3 separate regions of the Homo sapiens genome follow, and regions 1 and 3 are each linked to region 2. Evidence: promoter capture Hi-C in 16 types of primary human blood cells and fetal thymus (Javierre and others, 2016). All regions are on one chromosome and are shown on one strand. Each heading gives the region's core, a stretch centred on a gene start or on the middle of the fragment in contact. The rest is flanking DNA. Distances are from core to core; before and after follow the strand shown.

Region 1 (3,933 bases), core at 927-3,426, 550 kb before region 2:
CCTGGCTGGATGAGGACACACTTTCTGGGCTCAAGCCTCCCGTTTCTTGCTCCCTGATGTGAATCCAGCCAATGCAGACAGGCACGCAACTGCCTGTGTGGATTCCGATGCAACCCCATGGGCCCCTCATCTCACCCCATCTAGGCCTGTAGGAGGTCATGGTTATATAAACTCAGGACCGCCACACCATTATTTATGTCTCTAAGCCACAAGGTGGGGAAACCAGAGAAAAGGCAGATGGGAAAATGCCGGCGGAGGGTGGGGGAGTTCCAAGGCCAGGATGCTCCCGTGCATGGAGAATAAGACCACAGGATGCAAGAAAATAACCCCTTGGAGCTGTTATCCCTCAGGCCCCAACATGTATGGAGCTGGCAAAATCCCACAAGAGCTGAGCGCTGGGACTCTGGAGGCCTACCTGGGCTTGAGCGCTGATCCTCATCCTTCTGTAAAATGGTTACTTGAGTATAATAGGTACCTGATGTACATACAATAAATACTCAATAATGGAGTTGTATTTCTACACAGATATTTTGGTTTTAACCAGTTCCCCACCAGGTTCAAAGAAAAGATGAGCAGATTCTACTTGCCGCTGCCTTCTCACAGGACGTCCCTCCCCACCCATTCCAGGCTGACCCATCTGGACTAGATGCTGAGCCAGGGCTGGGGGTAAGGCCAAAGGGGTCTGGGCCTGTGGGGGTCGGGGGGCTAAAGATTGCAAGAACCCCTCCCACCTCTCCCATGCTCTTCTTTGGAGGGAGAGAGGGAGCTCTGTGTCCACGGGTAGGAAGAAGAAATTGCCAACTGACACCAGTACAGTTTATTCACAAATAAATAAATTCACATTAGGCAGAGCCTCCTGCTTGCCTCAAAGTGTCTAGCCCTATGGGTCCCTCCATGGAGGGAGGGGCTGAGAAGGGCCGCCGCGGTGGGGACGGCTCTCACCCGCAGGAATGCCCCCGTCGGGATCGCCCGTGCCCTCTTCCAGGAAAGGCAGTCTGCCAAGGAACCACTTCGAAGGTGCTGAGGCCAAAAAGCCTCGGTGCTCACAGAGACGGCGTCAGTTGTCCCTTGTCACTTGGGCTCCTCAGGCAGCCACTCCAGAGGCGAGAGGGGCATCCAGGTCTCCAACAGAGCCAGCACGTCGCCCGGAAGGAGCTGTAGGGAGAGACGGAACAGCGCAGCCCTCAAGCACTGGTGGCCTTGTGCGGGTGTCCGCGCTCGTGGGCTCCACTCTCAGGGGGCCCCTAGCGAGGGGAGACCCAGTCCTCTGCGTGGCCTTTCCCTGCCTTCGCTTCTTGGAGCCCTGGGCATACTATGGTGGCCAGGTGGCCAGGCTGCCGGCGGGGAGCAGCAGGGTGCCTGGTCCTCACCTTGGCGGGCGGTGGGGCTGTGCGCGGGGGCACGGACGAAGGGGGCGCGGGGAAGGGGACACTAACCGGGGACGGTGGGCTTGGCTCCATCGCCTGCCCTTCAGGGCACGCCGCCTCGGCGAACAGCGCAGGCGGGTCGCGCGGCTCGGGTGCAGCTCGGGCTCCGGGGCAGGCAGGCGGGGATCCCCAGGACGCCCCGGCGCGGACGGCGGATACCAGGCCCAGCCCGCGCCCCTGCCCCTGCCCCTCAGCCTGCGTCCGTGTCTGCATCTGCGCGGGGCAGTCGTCGGGGCACAGCGGGCAGCCCCGAGGGGACCCCGCGTCACCGCGCTGCCGGCACCGGCGCTGGAGACTCTCCTCGCTGAGGCCTAGCACGGCCGACAGGTGGCCGATATAGCGGATAGCCAGGCGCAGCGTCTCGATCTTGGTCAGGCTCTGGCCCGCGGGCGCCACGGACGGCGGTAGAAAGCGGCGCAGCTCGTGCAGGGCGCGGGCCAGCGTGCGCATGCGCAGTTTCTCCCGCTCACTGGCGCTCTGCCTCTGCCCGCTGCCCAGGCGGCTGCTGCGCGCGCCGCGCCTACCTACGGAGGGGGCGCGGGGGTCCCGGAGGGTGCCTGGCCGCGCGGGGCTCGCCACGGGGCTGTCGGCTGGGGTGCTGCCCCATGAGTCTGGGGACGAGACGAGGGAGCGGCCGCAGTCCTTGTCGGAGGGCGGCGGCCGCCGAGTTGGGCCCCAGGCCGCAGAGAGCATCCAGGACTCGGAGAGCGGCGGGCACAGGGGCTGGGCCATGGCAGCGGCGGCGCGTCTGGGGGCCGGCGGCCGGCGGCCGCTTTATGCCGAGCCCGAGGTGTGAAGTGGCCCCTTCCAGGCCGCATCAGCACATCAAAGTGGGCTCGGGGCTTGGAGGGGGCGGAGCCTGACCCTTTGAATCCACGGCGGGGGGCCAAGGTGCCAGCCCCTTGACTGCGCCTGTTTCGCCCCACCTGGGCCCTCGCTTGGGCGCCCGACCCAGCCTCTCGGCCTTCCCGCCTGCGCCCAGTGTTGGGTGAAGCCCGGGGCGTTGGGCCAGCCCTGCAGGTTAAAGGAAGCGGGGTCAGAAAAACGAAATCTAGATCCTAGGTTTGGGGCCTGCCTTCACCTGTTGGGGACCTTATGCAAATTCTTAGTTCTTTTGCACCTTAGCTTCCAATTTGTATAATGAGAGCCTCAGGGCATGCGCCAATTGGACAGTGGAGTAGAGTAAGGACCAGGAGCAGGGACCCTCATTCCCTCTAAAGGTGGAGAAAACAGTAAACCACTTCTCCTTTGAGGCAGGATGGCCCTGGGTAGACCCTTCCCTGGTAAGAACATGTGGACAGTGCAAGGAAGCTTGCACCCCGGCAAATTCAATAAGCTGCCGAGTCTGGTCAGGATGCTGGACCTTCTGAGCAGAGGGAGGGGGTTAAGCCTGCTCCAACCCCAGGCCACCTCTAGCCTGGCAAGGTCTGGAGCTTGGCCTGTTGCCACAGCTGTCACCACTGGCCTTTACCTGATGTTCTGCCGCTATTGGACAGGTATAACAGGTTTTCCCAATGAAATGTGAGTGGAAATGACGCAGCAAAGGCATTTGACAAAATCCAACACCCTTCGTGATGAAAATTCTCAGCAAACTAAGAATAGAGAGGAATTTCATCAACCTGATGAAAGGCTCCTACAAAGAACCTACAGGTAGCCTCATACTGAGTAGTGAAAGACTGAAATCTTCCCCCCACCCCCCGATTGCAGGAACAAAGCGAGGGTGTCTCTCTTACCACTCCTATTCAACATTGTACCAGATGGAGGATCTAGGCTATGCAATTAGGAAACAAAAGACATACAGGTCAGAAAGGAAGAAATAAAACTCTTTTCGCAGGTTATGGCAGCTCTGGGCCCTGCTGCGCATGAGCCTGACCAATTTAAAGCGGAATCCTGGCTCCAGGAAACCCATGAGACGACCAAAAGGTCGGAGAAGAGGTAGAAAATGCGGCAGAGGCCATAAAAGAGAAAGGCAGAGAGGAAACTGGCTCTGCTGGGCTTTGGGGATGGCCAGACTCTATTTTACATCGGAATCCCAAAATACAGATTTAATGAAGGACTTAGCTTCAGACACCAGTATCAACCTTTAAGTATCAATAGACTGTAATATGTTACTGATTTGGGTCGTGTTGATCCTACTCAACCTATTGACTTAACCCAGCTTGTCAATGGAAGAGGTGTGACCATTCAGCCACTTAAAGAGGATTATGGTGTTCAGCTGGTCGAAAAGGCCGCAGACACCTTTCAGGTGAAAGTTAATATTGGGCCGGGCGCGGTGGCTCACACCTGTAATCCCAGCACTTTGGCAGGCCAAGGGGGGTGGATCATGAGGTCAGGAGATTGAGACCACCCTGGCCACCGTGGTGAAACCCCGTCTTATTAAAAATGCAAAAATTAGCCAGGCATGGTGGCACGTGCCTGTAGTCCCAGCTACTTGGGAGGCTGAGGTAGGAGAATCACTTGAACCCGGGAGGTGGAGGTTGCAGTGAGCTGAGATCATGCCACTGCA
Region 2 (4,263 bases), core at 679-3,178:
ACCTATGGAGAAGAAGATTTATCCATAACCCCACAATTTATTCATTTGCTTATTCCAGCAACAAATAAAAGTGCATGCCTTACTAAGAGCAGGGCATGTTCCAAGACTGACTATCCAGAAATGATAGCCTTGAATTGATTCCCTTCCAACCCTTTTCTCAATACACTACTACTACTAATTTTAAAATCAGGTTATTTCGTTTTGGAATCTCCTTTTCACTTAATATATCACAAACCTTTTCCCAGTTTATCAAATAATATTCCAAGCTATGATTTTAAAGCTGCCTCACCTCAGCTCACATCATATCACATCACATCACATCAGTTTACATTATTAAACCATTCTACTTGGGACATAAGAGATGATCAATTTTTCAACATTATAAATAATGTTGCATGTAATATTCTTTGGTCACATACCTGATTATCTTTGGAAAGCTTCCCTAGGATTCAGATTGTTAGATCAAAAGCCTTAAATATTTTTCAGGTTCTAGATACACAATGCTCGATTGCTTTCCTTTTTTTTTTTTTTTTTTTTTTTTGGGGAGACAGAGTCTTGCTCTGTCGCCCAGGCTGGTGTGTAGTGGTGTGATTTCGGCTCACTGCAAGCTCCGCCTCCCCGGTTCATGCCATTCTCCTGCCTCAGCCTCCCGAGTAGCTGGGACTACAGGTGCCCGCCACCACGCCCGGCTAATTTTTTGTATTTTTAGTAGAGACGGGGTTTCACTGTGTTAGCCAGGATGGTCTCGATCTCCTGACCTCGTGATCCACCCGCCTCGGCCTCCCAAAGTGCTGGGATTACAGGCGTGAGCCACCATGCCCGGCCCAATTGCTTTCTTGAAAGAGTGTAATAGTTTTACTTCCACCAGCTACAAGAGTGTGTTTCAGTCATACAGCAAGGCCTGCCTCTCGAAACAACACCTATGGGTTAAAAAAAAAAAAAAGTCATTGTCAACTGAGTCAAAATGGTTTTTCTTTTAATTTGCATTTCTTACTTGACAACATAAGTCAAACTTTAAAAAAAAATTTGTTTCTTCATAAATTACCTTTGCATGCTTTTTGTCATTTTCCTATGGAACTGTTAATGTTTCTTCTTAGCATTCTAGTCTTAATATTTTTTAGCAAAGGATTTTTCTGACTGCATTGTGAGATCTGGCCTCCTGGCTGGGGCGGCAGGAGGTGGGATGGAGAAAGGGCGGGGTGTCAGAGCCAGGCCTGTTCTCTTAGTCCTTCCACAATCGCCAAGGTGTGACCTGGGCCAACTCTTGGTATCTCTGGGCTTCAGTTCCCTTCCCTGTAAATAGAAAGGTCTTAATTAAGGTCCCTTCCAGTGCTGTAAAAGGGAGTTTCAAAGCTTCTCTCACTGTTATGATTGTGATCAGCTTCGAAGGAGGTAGTGCTAGTGGGTAAACATCAAACTGTAAGCTTGCTTCCCCAGTTCCAACCTACCAGTACCACCTACACTGAGAAAATCACTTTGATGCTCTTAGTTTCCTGATCTGTAAATGGAAAATGTGTTTTACAGATTTGTTGTAAAAGTTATGTGAAATAATAAAAATCAAAGTGTATAGATTATAATATACTACAGACGGGCCGGGCATGGTGGCTCTCGGCTGTAATCCCAGCACTTTGAGGGGCTGAGGCAGACAGATCACTTGAGGTCAGGAGTTCGAGACCAGCCTGGCCAACACGGCAAAACCCCGCCTCTACTAAAAATACAAAAATTAGCCAGGCATGGTGGTTTGCCCCTGTAATCCCAGCTACTCCAGAGGCTGAGGTGGGAGAATCACTTGAACCCCGGAGACAGAGGTTGCAATGAGCCGAGATCATACCAAGGCACCCCATCCTGGGCAACAGAGCCAAACTCATCCCAAAACAAAACAAAACAAACAAACAAACAAACAAATGTATATATATACACACGCACCACAGACATACACACACACTGTGAAGTTGCATTTTTAAAGAATTTAATTTTCATAAATCTTAGTGCACAAACAAGTAAAGAAAACATTTTTTACCCTGTTGCATGTATCCTCCCTTTCAAACTAGACTCTAGCCTCCAGGGGTCCAAAGAGAATGAGATGACAGAGAGAATGTAAATAGAAACAAAAGAAGCTAAATCTTAGTGTTTGGGCTTCTAAGTATGGAGCCTCAAGTGATAATACGCAATTTTCTGAAGCACTTCTGTACATGATTTTCTCCTTGTGTGTGCTGACTTGACAGCTTAATTCACACACATAATACACACACACATACCTCACACACATAAATCTACCATATATATATATATACACAACTTACATAAGTGCTTCACACCCACTATATATCTAATTCCTTTTATAGGCATATGGCAATGAAAGCAGAAAATGTGATTCAAAAAATAGAAACCACTCTCATTTTCTTTAACTCTTTCCTTTAATTTTGGTCATTTAAAGCTTATAAATTTGACAGACTGTATTTTTAAAACAGACTATTTTTAAAACCTTTAATACTAGTCTCATACATGGTCTATTTCTATTGGTTTATAGTTTGTCAGCAAATTGTATTTTCTACCCATAGGTAAATGTAGCACTGTTCTGAGCACCAAGAAGACATAGGCAGGGAATAGACACTACCTTAGGATCAAGAGGAGACAAGACATGTAAACATGTCATTAGCTAAGTGTGTACATAAATCCAGTTCTGTCATTAAAGAGTAAATATGAGAGCAGGGAGATTTTCTGGTGGGTGGGCGATGATTGCTTTTTTCTTCCCCACGCTCTCCTGGCATTTTTCTCCCCTTCCTTGGGACTGGATTATAGAATGCAGGGGCAGGCCAGGAGCGATGGCTCACGCCTATAATCCCAGCACTTTGGGAGGCCAAGGCTGGTGGATCATGAGGTCGTGAGTTTGAGACCAGCCTGGCCAACGTCGCAAAGCCCCGTCTCTACTAAAAATACAAAAAAAATTAGCTGGGCCTGGTGTCGGGTGCCTATAATCCCAACTACTCGGTAGGCTGAGGCAGGAGAATCTCTTGAACCCAGGAGGCGGAGGCTGCAGTGAGCCGAGATCGTGCCACTGCACTTCAGCCTGGGCGACAGAGCAAGACTCCATCTCAAAAAAAATAATAAAGAATGCAGGGGCAGTTCAGCTTATACATCATGGGCATAAACAATGGCCACTAATTGAAATGGTAGTTTGAAGCTAGCCAGAAATAGCTCTTCACAAAAGAGATCAAGTCTTACTCTGTAAAAAGAGAGTAAAAGCTGAGAAAATATTTCTGAACTAAGTTCACCTTACACAAAGAACATATCCAGAGTTCTAGAATATATGGATATGCTAGGGGAAGAAATACAGATGCAGGCAATCCCCTCTCCTCAATCAGAGGGACAAAGGGTGGAATATGATCTCTGTTCTAAGGCCGTTTGCACTTTCTGTTCATCCTTACCCACTTGTGATGTGTTGTTGTGGTGGTTGTTTCTCAGCAAATGCTCTTAAGTCTGTTACGTAACCTTTCTAAGCACTTTACACATATGAACTGATTTGACTCACATAATAATCTTCTGGGATAAGAACTATTAGTATCATTCCCACTTGACAGATGCAGAAACCGAGGACCTGAGAGATTCCATAAGTCTCCCTGGCAAATTGGATTCAGCCCCAGGAAGTCTGGCTTCTTGGCCTACATTCTTGACTATAAAAGTTGCACTGTCTCTTTAGCTGAAGGGTGAACTTAGGCATTTGAACAGCCAAGGGGTTGTGGGTAGAGTGAAAAAAGAAAGGAAAGGCTTTGAAAGTTATCCTGTTGTTTGAAAACACGAAAAGAGAAGAGAAAAAGAAGGAGAGAGCCTGGAATAGCTGTGAGAAGGCAATAGAAGAAGTGGAAGAACAGGAAATGGAAGAAAAAAAGCAAAGAGAAATTGACCTTGTCCCTGCTAGGGTCCAAATCTAACGGCTTGCTCGGGCTGGAGGGGCTAGAAGTGGGTGTCTCTGCTTTCAAGCAGCGCATTTAACTTCACCGGCTTTCCCCAGGCTGTCTCTGCAGCAACCCACACGAGGGCCTCTTTTCACAGCAATTATGAAAGTGATGGTGGGAGGAAGTACAGCTCACTTATTGAGGTTAAAAAGCCACCCAAGTAAAAGCATTAACCCAGTAGTAAGATTAAATTCCTGGCCCCAAAGGGAAATTATCAGGAGGTGTCCTTTACCATGTGTGAAATGGAAACAGTTTCCTCTCTTGGGCAAAATAACCAATTGCTGTGGGAGGCGGAAATCAATGCAGT
Region 3 (4,280 bases), core at 1,099-3,598, 660 kb after region 2:
GAGCCATCATGCCTGGCCAAGCCATTTTTTAAAATGGACAAAAGTCAACAAAGACGACAGAAGGATAGCAAGTGAGCATATGAGAAGATGCTCTACATCATTAGTCATTAGGGAGTTGTAAATGAAAACCATAGTGAGACACCACTCCATACACAGAATAACTAGAATTACATAAAGGCTGAACATACCAACTGTTGGTGAAGATGTGGAGAAACTGGAACCTTCATACATTACTGGTAGGAATGTAAAATGGTACAACTGCTTTGGAAAACAGTTTGGCATTTCTTCTTTTTTAAGATGGAGTCTTGCTCTGTTGCCCAGGCTAGAGTGCAGTGGTGCAATCTCAGCTCACTGCCACTTCCGCCTCCTGAGTTCAAGGAATTCTCCTTCCTCAGCCTCCTGAATAGCTGAGATTACAGGTGTGTGCCACCACAGCCAGCTAATTTTTGTATTTTTAGTAGAGATGGGGTTTCACCATGTTGGCCAGGCTGGTCTCGAACTCCTGACCTCGTGATCTGCCCACCTTAGCCTCCCAAAGTGCTGGGATTACAGGCGTGAGCCACCATGCCCGGCCCAGTTTGGCATTTCTTAAAAAGTTAAGTGTACACATACCATAGATGTGATCCAGCCATTTCACTCCTAGGTATTTATCCAGAAAAAAAAATATATCCATACAAAGACTTGTACATGAATGTTTATAACAGCCTTGTTTTTAATAGCCAAAAACTGGAGAAAAGCCAAATGTGAAAAATAAACCTAACAGGCGAATAAACTGGTATATCAACACCATGGAATACTAAGCAAAAAAAAAAAAAAAAAAAAAAAAAAAAAAAAAAAAGAATTATGGATATAAGCAACAATATGGGTAAATCTGAAAGTAGTGAAAGAACCAGACCAAAAAAATATATACTGTATGATTCTACTTACATCGAACTGTAGAAAACGCAAACTAATCTGTAGTAACAAATCGGTGGGCCAGGTACAGTGGCTCATGCCTGTAGTCCTAGCACTTTGGGAGGCCGAGGTGGGCGGATCATGAGGTCAGGAGATCGAGACCATCCTAGCTAATACAGTGAAACCCTGTCTGTCTGTACCAAAAATACAAAAATTTACCAGGCGTGATGGCACGTGCCTGCAGTCCCAGCTACGCGGGAGGCTGAGGCAGGAGAATCCCTTGAACCTGGGAGGCAGAGATTGCAGTGAGCTGAGATTGTGCCACTGCACTCCAGCCTGGCAAGAGCGAGACTCCATCTCAAAAAAAAAAAAAAAAAAAAAAAAAAAAATCAGTGGTTGCTCGGCAGGGTGAGGCTGGGAAGGAGGAGTGAGAAAGGGGTGGGAAGAACTGCTGGGGTAGAGAGACTTGGTTAACTGGACTGTGGCGATGGTTTTTCTCTTACGCTTCACATGTGTGCAGTTTATGTCCATCCTCCTTCAGTAACGCTGTTGAAGTTGGGCAGCCTCCCCATATTGAGACAAACGGCATTGAAGCCAGAAGCATCCTAGGACTCCCTTTGCTCTCTACACATCAGGGGTTAGGTTTTATATTTCTCACCAAAAAATTAGAGTAAGAGATATTCTTAATTTAGAAATGTACCAGAGAATATTTTAAAAATCACACTCGGCCGGGTGCTGTGGCTCATGCCTGTCATCCCAGCACTTTGGGAGGCAGGCAGATCATCTGAGGTCAGGAGTTCAAGACCAGCCTGGCCAACATGGTGAAAGCCTGTCTCTACTAAAAATACAAAAATTAGCCAGGTGTGATGGTGCGTGCCTGTAATCCCAGCAAATCGGGAGGCTGAGGCAGGAGAATCGCTTGAACCTGGGAGGTGGAAGTTGCACTGAACCAAGATAGTGCCACTGTACTCCAGCCTGGGCGACAGAGTGAGACTCAAAAAAAAAAATCACACTCCTGACTAAAAATTTCCAGGAGGTCCTTTTAGTTTTTTGTGTTTGTTTTTCACACACAGACCAACCAACTAAAAAGTGACTGGGGAAAAAAAGGAAACACCACACTATATCTTTTTGAAATGTAAGTATACAGATTTTAATTTATTTTTAAGAATAATTGTATATTTTAAAAACAGGACACGTACTGTATGAGTAAACAGCGTGGCTAACACCAAGTCCACACTGGTAAGCTTTTGAGAACCATTTACACTATGTTGACAGTAGTACTGCTGCAGGCAGACAGCGGAAGAATAAATAATAGTGCTTCAAGAAGAGTAGTGATTGAGAGGATAGGTAAAGAGGGCGCCTCATCGTGGAAGCTAGAGCAGGAACACCTCCCCAGTAGTGACATGTGCAAAGTTCCAGATCTCCACGACAAAGACAGCTCAACCCATTGGAACAAACAGACTCCCAATGTGGCTGGCAACTGCGGGGGTAGAAGAACTCAGGCAAAGTAGGCACAGGAATGGGGGAGATGAGAGCCAAGGGACAAACGCCGAGAAAGCGTTCCGACAAGCATGTGTGTTCATACATGCATACCCCCAACAAAGGGCAATGCACTGTGTAACAGAACTGAACACAATTTAACAAAGCTGCTCCCAGCCTTCCTGTCACCTCTTTGGCAGTAGGGCAGGCCATCTCAACTTCGGACACACAAAGACATTCTCTTCAGGAGGAAGGCTGTCCTGTGTGGTGGGGACAAGGCTTCAGGTAAGAGCAAAGCTATGATAGCTACAGCATTAATTGAACATGCCTAAACAAAAAAGATGTTAATTACTAGTTACAGGTATACATGCCAAAATTACCCCCAGGGATGGGCATAGTCAATCATTTTCCTACAGTGGTGAAATAAAACAAGCTTTGATCATGCTTCAGCAAGTAGAATTATGTGGTAGAGAAGTCAGGCCCCATATGCTAAAATTTGCACTTCTTGCCATAAACTTTTCATGTATATAAGTCAAAACCAAGTCTCCTAGGACCACTAAACCTATGATGGGCTTTCAACTGTAACACTCATTCACATCTTTAAGTTAGGCCCATGGTCATGGAACCTGGCCAAGGTTTCAAGCACGCCTAAGCTGAAGAAAAACTAAAGTCACCCCCATATAATTAGGTCCAGTCTAGGCACAGGAAGCCACAGCTGGTTGACTGATCAGGGCTTCTCAGGACTGGATGTTGGTTGAATTGAGGATTCCAGAAGTAGCATCAGATTTGGAAGCCTTTGAAAGTTCTCGCTGTTGAAAAATAAATAACATCAGTGGCCATACTGCCTCTCTTACACATGGCCCACCCTTCTAAGTTTGGTTAAGTGTCAGCAAAAGGTCCCTTGAAGGTAGTTTCTCTGAGATCCCTAGCCTGCAATAGGCTGCGTTAGGAGTAAAAGGTGAGGAACTCTGAGCACCATTCTATTAGTCACAGACAGAGTGCATGTGCACGCATGCCCGTGACCCCTTTTTCCTCAGCCAGTCCATTCTGTTACACCTCACAGAAGAGAAATCCTTCATACAGTCATGCACTGCATAATGATGTTTCAGTTAACGACAGGCCACATACACTATGGTGGTCCCATAAGATTATACCATATTTTTACTGTACCTTTTCTATGTTTAGATACACAAATACTTACCATTGCGTTACAATTGCCTACAGTATCCCAGGAATAGCCTGAATCAAAAAAACCCACAATTGCCTACAGTATTCTTTCTGTAACATGCTGCCCAGGTTTGTAGCCTAGGAGGAAAACGCCATACCATATAGTTTAGGTGTGTAGGCTGTTCTGTCTAGGACTGTTAAGTACACTCTGATATGTGCACAATGAAATTGCCCCACATTCTCAGAACATATCCCTGTCATTAAGCGAGGCATGACTCTACTTCACAGAGCTACTTTAGAGTTGTCAAGGTAAGTAGGCAACAAGCTTTGGTCTCTTGAGCCCTTTATAAAACAATGGGCCAGAACATATATCTACCAATCCCTGGGGCTGAGGCCTTGTAACCTGCTGGTGATTTGATCTCATGCTGGAGCACATGGTAGAGCAGCAAAAGATAAAGCATGAATGGCTATTGAGAAAGACAGATATTAGCAGAGGTTAGTTTACCGGCTTTGGTGCTGCCTGGTGGAGTCTATCAGCCATAGCAACCCAAACCAGACGAACCTACCTAGGACTAGCCACACAGATAGGCAGGTACATTTAAGCCTCAGATAAAATGGGCCTTGGTTGAACAAGCGAAAAAGAGAAAGCTGGACCTCTGTCCAGCAATCAGCCAGAGTGACACACACCCACTTTTAAAGGTAGAAGCACCACCAGCCACGTAATTTGAAAAACATGCTGG

The links. Contacts are between HindIII fragments. The CHiCAGO score rates a contact against its expected background, and 5 or more counts as called.
Region 1: a contact is called between the fragment with the promoter of MESP1 here and a fragment that was not itself captured in region 2, in 1 of 17 cell types (neutrophils). The highest score is 5.0, in neutrophils.
Region 3: a contact is called between the fragment with the promoter of PRC1-AS1 here and a fragment that was not itself captured in region 2, in 2 of 17 cell types (total B cells and naive B cells). The highest score is 5.5, in total B cells.

Annotation. Positions count from the first base shown.
Region 1 is chr15:89,749,073-89,753,005 of GRCh38, forward strand. MESP1 (mesoderm posterior bHLH transcription factor 1) reads right to left here and starts at 2,177. Exons shown (of 2, transcript NM_018670.4): 1 at 1,437-2,177; 2 at 803-1,155. The coding sequence starts at 2,159. The coding sequence ends at 1,072. It also overlaps the pseudogene MRPL15P1. RefSeq lists silencers at 1,448-1,737, 1,798-2,227. The HindIII fragment of the contact is 7,264 bases long and covers 1-2,736 here.
Region 2 is chr15:90,302,657-90,306,919 of GRCh38, forward strand. No RefSeq gene overlaps it. Among named protein-coding and RNA genes, the nearest start is that of NGRN, 39 kb to the left of the region's middle. RefSeq lists enhancers at 921-970, 3,889-3,938. The HindIII fragment of the contact is 1,013 bases long and covers 1,423-2,435 here.
Region 3 is chr15:90,964,021-90,968,300 of GRCh38, forward strand. It overlaps PRC1-AS1 (PRC1 antisense RNA 1), which reads left to right and starts at 2,349. Exons shown (of 4, transcript NR_051984.1): 1 at 2,349-2,658. PRC1 (protein regulator of cytokinesis 1) reads right to left here. Exons shown (of 15, transcript NM_003981.4): 15 at 2,020-3,182. The coding sequence ends at 3,111. The HindIII fragment of the contact is 668 bases long and covers 2,137-2,804 here.